3 separate regions of the Homo sapiens genome follow, and all the other regions are linked to region 2. The links are contacts of gene promoters, found by promoter capture Hi-C in human tissues and cell types (Jung and others, 2019). All regions are on one chromosome and are shown on one strand. Each heading gives the region's core, a stretch centred on a gene start or on the middle of the fragment in contact. The rest is flanking DNA. Distances are from core to core; before and after follow the strand shown. Region 1 overlaps TNRC6B (trinucleotide repeat containing adaptor 6B). Region 2 holds the start of APOBEC3H (apolipoprotein B mRNA editing enzyme catalytic subunit 3H). Region 3 has its middle 40 kb from the start of TNRC6B.

Region 1 (2,700 bases), core at 179-2,678, 1.2 Mb before region 2:
ACATAAAAAAGGAGGGTAATGCAGGTGCAACCCCTACCACAGGCCTAGAGAGGTAGATTTCTAAAAAGGTAATTTTCTCTACCAACAACTTACCAGAACCATATCCAGGTATTGGCCCTTTGGTTTGAAGGTCTGGGAGCCCCACATTCAATGCGTTGGGTACCATGTTGTCCAGATGCGGCTTGGGCCCAACAGGATGAGAGGGCGAGTGCTTCATGCCTGGCTGCCTCTGCTGCTGCTGCTGCTGCTGCTGCAGTGCACTCACCATTCGAGCCAGCTGAGGGCCAAGAGAGACAGACACGTGATAAGCACGGCCCCGAACTTCCCAGGAAAAGACTGTGCCCGGTTCTTTGCCATCAGAGGCTAAGCCGGGATGTACTCCTCCAACACAGCACTGGAGGGACCCTGCCTACCCACGTACCTGCTGCTCTTGCTGTTGGCGTACAGCTTGAGAAATCTTTCTCTGGTTCTGTAACAACTGCTGCTGTTGCTGCTGCTGCAAGAGAAGCTGACATGCCTACAAAACAAGGGGGAAAGACAGAAAACCAAAGTTTCCTGAGATTGATTTACTGAGGACACCTAAAGGGTCTGTGCACTGAAGTACAGGTCACACAATCAAAAGTATCCAGGAGGGAAGTAACACCAAATTCCCGGTCTCTTGGTTACATTTTCCTCCAGTTGAGCTGACAACCCTTAAGCACACTCCATAGTTTGCAAAGAAGTGTGGACTAGCACCCTTTGAACATAGAAAGTGGCAAAGATGTGGGAAGCAAATCAAAGCTAAAGAAAAAAAAAAAGCAAATGACCTTTTTAGCCACAGGAAGAAAATCTTCTACTTACCAACTGAAACTGGGGAATTTGTGGAAGCTGGCTCAGCATGGCAATTTGTTGAGGAGATAACTGGGGCCCCACATTGAAAAGACCTGGACTCAGGCCACTGTTGGGAAACTGCTTGAGCATTGAGGCAGAAACCTAGCCAAAAAAATAAAAAAGAAAGAAAAGAAAAGGAATCTTCAGAATTTATCAAAATAAAACTGTTTTTCTGTGAAAAGAATCTTGATGAATCTAAAGCAAGAGTTGTCAAACTTTTCTGTGAAAAATATATAACAGGAAAAATACACTCAAGGGTTAACAATGATTATCTTGGAGCAGTGAGATTACAACAGTTTTTAAATTTTCTTCTTAGACTTTCCAATTTTCTACAATAAAAAGTATAAATTTTATATTCAGGAAAACATCTTCAAGAAAAAAAAATTGATGACAATATGGCTTTTATCCAACCAAGAAATTATTACTGGAAATGTGCCATAAAACAAAACATGCTACATTGCATAAAGCTAATAAATAATACTTACGTGAAAGTATTTCTGTGCTACAAGTAAGACAAATATATTAACTTGTAAATAGAAGACATGAGTTTCAATGCATGGCTTCTGATAGCAAACACCCACAGAGTGGCAGTGTAAAAAAAGAGCCAGCATCAAAGAGCCTGGAAGGTCACTGACCCGGCAGGGTCCTTCTCCCTGTTCTCAGGAGTGAGCTAGGCGAGGCTGCAGGAAGCTCTGGCGACAGAGGATTCCCTCCTATCTTTGGTTTGCTCCTCTAAGATGATTTAAGTAAGAAGAAGTGAGTTTCCCTGCACCCTCATCTACTGAACCCACTGGACTAGTTGGGGCCATGGAGAACAAGCTTAAGAACGTGTCCGTGAGTGCCAAGTAGTGTAGCACAATGGCCAAGAATTTAGTCCTAGAGGCTGGGCACAGTGGCTCACACCTGTAATCCCAGCAGTTTGGGGGACTAGCTTGTGCCTAGGAGATTGAGAACACCTGGGCAACATAGCGAGCTATCATCTCTTTAAAAAAATAAAAAGGTTAAAAAAAGACTTTAGAGCTGGGTGTGGTGGCTCACGCCTGTAATCCCAGCACTTCAGGAGGCTGAGGTGGGTGGATTACCTGAGGTCAAGAGTTCAAGACCAGCCTGACCAACATGCAGAAACCCCGTCTCTACTAAAAATACAAAATTAGCTGGGTGTGATGGCGCATGCCTGTAATCCCAGCTACTAGGGAGGCTGAGGCAGGAGAATTGCCTCAAGCTGGGAGGCGGAGGTTGTGGTGAGCCAAGATGGTGCCATTGCACTCCAGCATGGGCAACAAGAGTGAAATTCCATCTCAAAAAAAAAAAAAAAAGACTTTAGTTCTAGAGGCAGACTGCCTGGGTTTGTAATCCCAGCTCTGCCTGCCTCCCCAGTTTTGTTTTTTTTTTTTTTTTGTTTTTTTTTTTTTGAGACAGGGTCTCACTCTGTCACCCAGGCTGGAATGCAGTGGCGTGATCATGGCTCACTGCAGCCTTGACCTCCCGGCTGGTCTCAAACTCCTGGGCTCAAGCCATCCTCTCAAAGTGTTGTGATTACAAGTATGAGCCACCGCTCCCAACCCAGCTCTGCCATTTCTTTTTTTTTTTTGAGACGGAGTCTCGCTCTTTCACCCAGGCTGGAGTGCAGTGGCGCTATCTTGGCTCACTGCAAGCTCCACCTCCTGGGTTCACGCCATTCTCCTGCCTCAGCCTCCCGAGTAGCTGGGACTACAGGCGCCCGCCACTGCGCCCGGCTAATTTTTGGTATTTTTAGTAGAGACGGGGTTTCACCGTGTTAGCCAGGATGGTCTCAATCTCCTGACCTCATGATCCGCCCGCCTCGGCCTC
Region 2 (2,700 bases), core at 153-2,652:
GATGGATCTCCCATCCTCCCAGTATTTCTGCCACCCATCCTCTAACCCATTAAAAATAAGAAAAGTGAATAAAATTCTCCCCTTCAAAATAAGAGCTCTTAATATTTCAGTTCAATTAATTCCTGGCATTTTACCTATTCATGTTATTTTATTTTATTTTTTTAGTTTTAGTAGATAAGGGGGTCTCCCTGTGTTGCCCAGGCTGGTTTGGAACTCCTGGCCTTTAGTGATGATCCTCCCCTCTCAGCTTCCCAAAGTGTTGGGATTACAGGCATGAGCCATTTTGCCTGGCCAGGCAGGAAAATGGCGTGAACCCAGGAGGTGGAGCTTGTAGTGAGCCGAGATTGCGCTCCAGCCTGGGCAACAGACTGAGACACCCCTTCTCAAAAAAACAAAACGAAACAAAAAATCAGGGTAGCACTTCCATCCCCAGGCCCAGGCCACTCTTCTAAGTGCTGAGAGGATCTGAGCTCACGTGAGGCTGCCCTAGGCCTGCAGGGGCCATTCTCATCTTACAGAGGAGGGGCCAGAGGTGCAGAGAGGTGGGGTAACCTGCCCAGGCCATGGAGCTGGGCCACTTTCCTGGCCAGCCCTGCCAGCCTCTGCATCACGGGCCCTGCAGGAGGGAGCCTTTGGGAACCAGGCTCTCTTCTTCCTAAATTTTAAAATAAAAGCATTTCTCCTGATCATTGAGTTTTTCCGTATATTCCGTGTTACTGGTGTCATTATAAACGGTGAATGTGAATACTGATCATGGAGGAGGAGTGTGTGTTCAGGGTCATCTGCATCCTCCTCTGCCCACAGTGGAGACATCCTTGGAAGAGATGATTTGCCTTGTGCTTCAGAGATCATTGCCTCCCCACACCCTCTCCTAAGACTTTGTATTGAAACAAAGTAATCTTACACAAAGTTCATCAAAGCACTGTGAACAAAATTCCAGATTGCTCCCATCATCCTTTAGTTCAGTTCTCCCAGTTCCAGAGCCCAGGAATGGCAGGAAGCACACAGAGAGAGCACCCTCCCAAGGTGGGGAGCACTAGCCCAGCCATGACTCTTAGGGGAGAGTCTCAGCAGGGGTCTTGGGCTGGTGCAGGCCGGGGAGGCGGCCCGTTCAGAAGCAGCAGTGGGGTGACCACACAGCAGGGCAAAGAGCCTGGGTGGGAGTGGGGATGGCAGGGGAGCCAGAGGAGAAGGAGCCCAGGGCTGGGGCTGGGGCAGCGGGAGGCCAGGGCTGAGGCACAGAAGGGCTGCCAGGCAGGAAGTGGCAGCAGAGGGCCCAGTGGACAGAGTGGGCGGCAGTACCTGATCTGTGCTTCTGGCCACAGCTTCCTTAGCAGACTTGCCCCTGCTTGTCTGAGGCACTAAGTTTCACTTTTGGCAGCTCTCCCAAAAGTCACAAAAGGTCAGCTCTCCCAAAAGTCACAAAAAGTCACTGCTTGATGAGGGTGGCTCCACCCTCTTCCTTTTGTGGGACTGGAGTGGGAGGGCCCTGGGGTGCTTCAGATCCCTCAGGCTCCTTTCTTTCTCTATTTCCTCGGGCTTGGCAGGGGAAGTCTGATGGAGGTGGCTCACCTCCCATCCTCCCACCCCCAATTCCCTCTCCAGGTACAGCCAGACTCAACTCCCTCCCCAGGTATAGTTTACAAAAGAACAAAGGCCAGATGCGGTGGCTCACACCTGTAATCCGAACACTTTGGGAGGCTGAGGTGGGCAAATTACAAGGTAAGGAGATGAAGACCATCCTGGCCAACATGGTGAAACCCCGTCTCTGCTAAAATACAAAAAATTAGCCAGGTTTGGTGGCCTGCGCCTGTAGTTCCAGCTGCTTGGGAGGCTGAGGCAGGGAAATTGCTTGAACCTTGGAGGCAGAGGTTGCAGTGAGCCGACGTCGCACCACTGCACTCCACCCTGGCAACAGAACGAGACCCTGTCTCAAAAAATAAATAAATAAATAAAAATAAAAAAGAAAGAAAAAAGAAAGGAATTGATGGCTGGTCACGGTGCCTGTTATCCCAGCACTTTGGGAGGCTGAGGCAGGTGGATTGCCTGAAGTCAGGAGTTCAAAATCAACCTGGCCAACCGCACTCCAGCCTGGGCAATAAGAACAAAACTCCGTCTCAAAAACTAAACTAAACTAAAATAAATGAAAGGAATAGAAGCCACAGAAAGGAGCAGGGATCCAGACCAGGGCTGACACCATAGACCAGATGCCACTCCCCTGGTGGACAGGGCAGGCTGCAGCCCCCTCCCCACCACCCCACTGACCTTTGGCATTCAGCCTCCTGGCAGGACCCTGAGCCTGATGTGAAATGAGCACTGGGGTCAGGCTCAGGACTGCATCTCCAGCGGATCCAGTGCCCATTATCTAGCCCAGTCCCCAGATAGCACTGGGAGGGGAGGGCAGTGATCCTGACAGTCAGAGGAGGTCCCAAGCACAGAGAGGCTAAGATACTGTCCCCACGTCACACAGCAAATCAACAGCAGAGCTGGAGTGCTGGCCAGGACTTCCTGTGTCCCTTCTCCCCCACAGCTAGCTACTTTGAGGTTCTTCATTGCTCCATGGAAAGGAGCAGGAGAGGAGACACGAGGGAGGGGACTTACTGCTCCTAAAGGGCCTCCCAGGTCAGAGATGAAGGACCTGGACTTCACATTTGCATTCTGGAACCCATGTCCTCGTCTTCATGCATATCAACCAACACC
Region 3 (2,700 bases), core at 74-2,573, 1.0 Mb before region 2:
AGCCTGGCCAACATGGTGAAACCCCATCTCTACTAAAAATGCAAAAATTAGCTGGGCATGGCAGCATGCGCCTGTAATCCCAGCTACTCAGGAGGGTGAGGCAGGAGAATCACTGGAACCCAGGAGGCAGATGCTGCAGTTAGCCAGGATCGCACCACTGCACTCCATCCAGCCTGGGCCATAGAGCAAGACTCCATCTCAAAAAAAAAAAAAAAAAAAATGCGTACACCCATGCAATAGGGTATTATTCAGCCATTCAAAGGACTGAGGCACTGATAATGTGCTTAACATGGATAGCCTTGAAAACATGATGCTAACTGAAAGAAGTCTCACATCACACAGAAGGAAAACATACTGTATGATTCTATTTATATGGAATGTTCAGAATAGGTGATTCTGTAGAGATGGAAAGATTAGTGGTTGCCTGTGCCTGGGAGGAAAGGGAATAGAGAGTGACTGCTAATGGATACAGTTTCTTTTTGGAGTAATGACAATGTTCTTAAATTAGATGGCAGTGATGGTGGTACAACTCTGTGAATACACTGAAAACCATTGAGCTGTATACTATAAATGGGTAAGTTTTATAGGATGTAAAGTATACCTTAATAAAGCTGCTGAAAAGGAAAAGGAAAGAACATCCAAGTTAATTCTTTTCTTTCCTTAATTTACCTTTATTTTTACTTTTTTTTAGTACTTTGAATTGCTGTTTGGGGTTTTGTTTGTTTTGGTACTTTGAGAGAGTGAATTCTTATCCATGCTCAGGTTGGACACAGTCTGAAATACTTCCTACAGTTCTATACTTGAGCCTTTTCTCATCTCCCAGCCCCATCTATTCCTATATGCTGAGAACTCCTAATACGTATCTTGATGTCCTCTCTCTCTACTGAGCTCTAAAATGCCTACTAATTTAGTTTTACCTGGGCTGCCTGCAGGTGCCTCAGTATTTCAAAATCCACACCCAGTTAAAAGTAACAGTAACAGGCCAGGCGTGGTGGCTCATGCCTGTAATCCCAGCACTTTGGGAGGCTAAGGCAGGCGGATCACCTGAGGTCAGGAATTCGAGACCAGTCTGGCCAACATAGCGAAACCCCGTCTCTACTAAAAATACAAAAACTAGCTGGGCATGGTGGTGTGTGCCTGTAATCCCAGCTACTCAAGAGGCTGAGGCAGGAGAATCTCCTGAGCCTGGGAGGCAGAGGTTGCAGTGAGCTGAGATCATACCACTACACAATAGTCTGAGCAACAGAGCGAGACTCCGTCTCAAAAAAATAACGATAACAGTAACAACAGCTACATCCAATACCTTGCTCTATCTCCTATTTCACATGGCATCATTTAACCCACTCTTTGCAGATTTGTGCTCTCCTCCCATCCTTCCTGTATGCTTCTCCTGTCAGTCCCCTCCTCTGCAGACCACTGTTACTGCCTTATTTCAAAAGCCTTCCTCAGTCTTCCTGAGGGGACTCCTAACTCTCCTAACTGGTTTCCGTGTCTCCATTTTACAGCCTGTTGGTAATCATTTCTCCACACTCCTGCCAGGTCATTCTTTTTTTTTTTTTTTTTGAGATACAGTCTAGCTTTGTTGTCCAGGCTGGAGTGTGGTGGTGTGATCTCGGCTCACTGCAACCTCTGCCTCCCAATTCAAGCGATTTTCCTGCCTCAGCCTCCCAAGTAGCTAGGATTACAGGCGCCTGCCACCATGCCCGGCTAATTTTTGTATTTTTAGTAGAGATGCGGTTTCACCATGTTGGCCAGGCTGGTCTGGAACTCCTGACCTCAAGTAATCCACCCGCCTCGGCCTCCCAAAGTGCTGGGATTATAGGTGTGGGCCACCAGGCCCGGCAGGTCCATCTTTCTAAAATATGCATCAGATCATCAGGTTTCTCCCCTGCTTAACATCCTTCAATAGTTCCCTATTGCCTGCAGGGGTTCTGCTTCTAACTCCATCTCCAGGGTCTCACAGACATCTCTCAATGCTCTAACCATCTCTTCTCCGGAGAAATGTGTGGCTCTGAATACGCACAAAGCACCCTCTCCCTTCTTAGGGATTCTTCTGTACCTATAGAAGTCTATAGTTCTATAAACTGACTTTTCCAGTAAGTTTATCTGACATAAGGAAACAGCTGATTACTCTGCCGTGTAACTTGTCCAGGATGGAGTATTGAACTACTATGGCCTCTGGAGTCAGACAGGCCTGGAGTTCAACCCAAATGATGTTGCTTACCAGCTACGTAAACAAATGGGGAAAGCACTTGCGCTGCATGTTTGCTTTTCCAATCTGCTCTCAGAATACCAAAATCCATGAAATCTTGTTATCACTTTTGCTAAAGCAGATCCAGCCTAAGGTAGAGATATCCTAAGCTCTGGAAAGCAAAAGACTTTATTAAACAATGGGTAAATCTTTTTTCTCTGCATCCCCTACCAAAACACAAACAAAACAAATTACCAAGTTCCTAAAATACTTCTGTGTAACACTTTTCTTGACTAAATGAGCACTTAATATTAAGAACAGATCTTGCAGTTCTTTGTCAATGAAACCAATTAAAACAGATCATTCAAATACTACTGTGTATTTTATGTCTAAGTTACCCTATTTAACTATCTTTAATGTTAAGCAAATCAACAGATGACTTTATTCTCTGTAGACAAAGACTACGTTTACTTGCTGCCTTTGATAATGATAATGTTATATTAATAGCT

The links. The method cuts DNA at HindIII sites, captures the fragments that hold promoters and counts their contacts. A contact is called where the count stands out against the background at its distance.
Region 1: a fragment that was not itself captured here is called in contact with the fragment with the promoter of APOBEC3H in region 2 in 1 of the 25 tissues and cell types used here (hippocampus).
Region 3: a contact is called between a fragment that was not itself captured here and the fragment with the promoter of APOBEC3H in region 2, in 1 of the 25 tissues and cell types used here (dorsolateral prefrontal cortex).

Annotation. Positions count from the first base shown.
Region 1 is chr22:40,298,727-40,301,426 of GRCh38, reverse strand. TNRC6B (trinucleotide repeat containing adaptor 6B) reads right to left here. Exons shown (of 23, transcript NM_001162501.2): 13 at 841-972; 14 at 422-517; 15 at 94-277. Among named protein-coding and RNA genes, the nearest start is that of ADSL, 46 kb to the left of the region's middle. The HindIII fragment of the contact is 7,080 bases long and covers 1-2,700 here.
Region 2 is chr22:39,095,946-39,098,645 of GRCh38, reverse strand. It overlaps APOBEC3H (apolipoprotein B mRNA editing enzyme catalytic subunit 3H), which reads right to left and starts at 1,402. Exons shown (of 5, transcript NM_181773.5): 1 at 1,303-1,402. RefSeq lists enhancers at 1-870, 1,201-1,540, 871-1,758, 1,081-2,280. The HindIII fragment of the contact is 18,686 bases long and covers 1-2,700 here.
Region 3 is chr22:40,136,846-40,139,545 of GRCh38, reverse strand. It overlaps a transcript of TNRC6B not described here. Among named protein-coding and RNA genes, the nearest start is that of TNRC6B, 40 kb to the left of the region's middle. The HindIII fragment of the contact is 3,810 bases long and covers 1-2,700 here.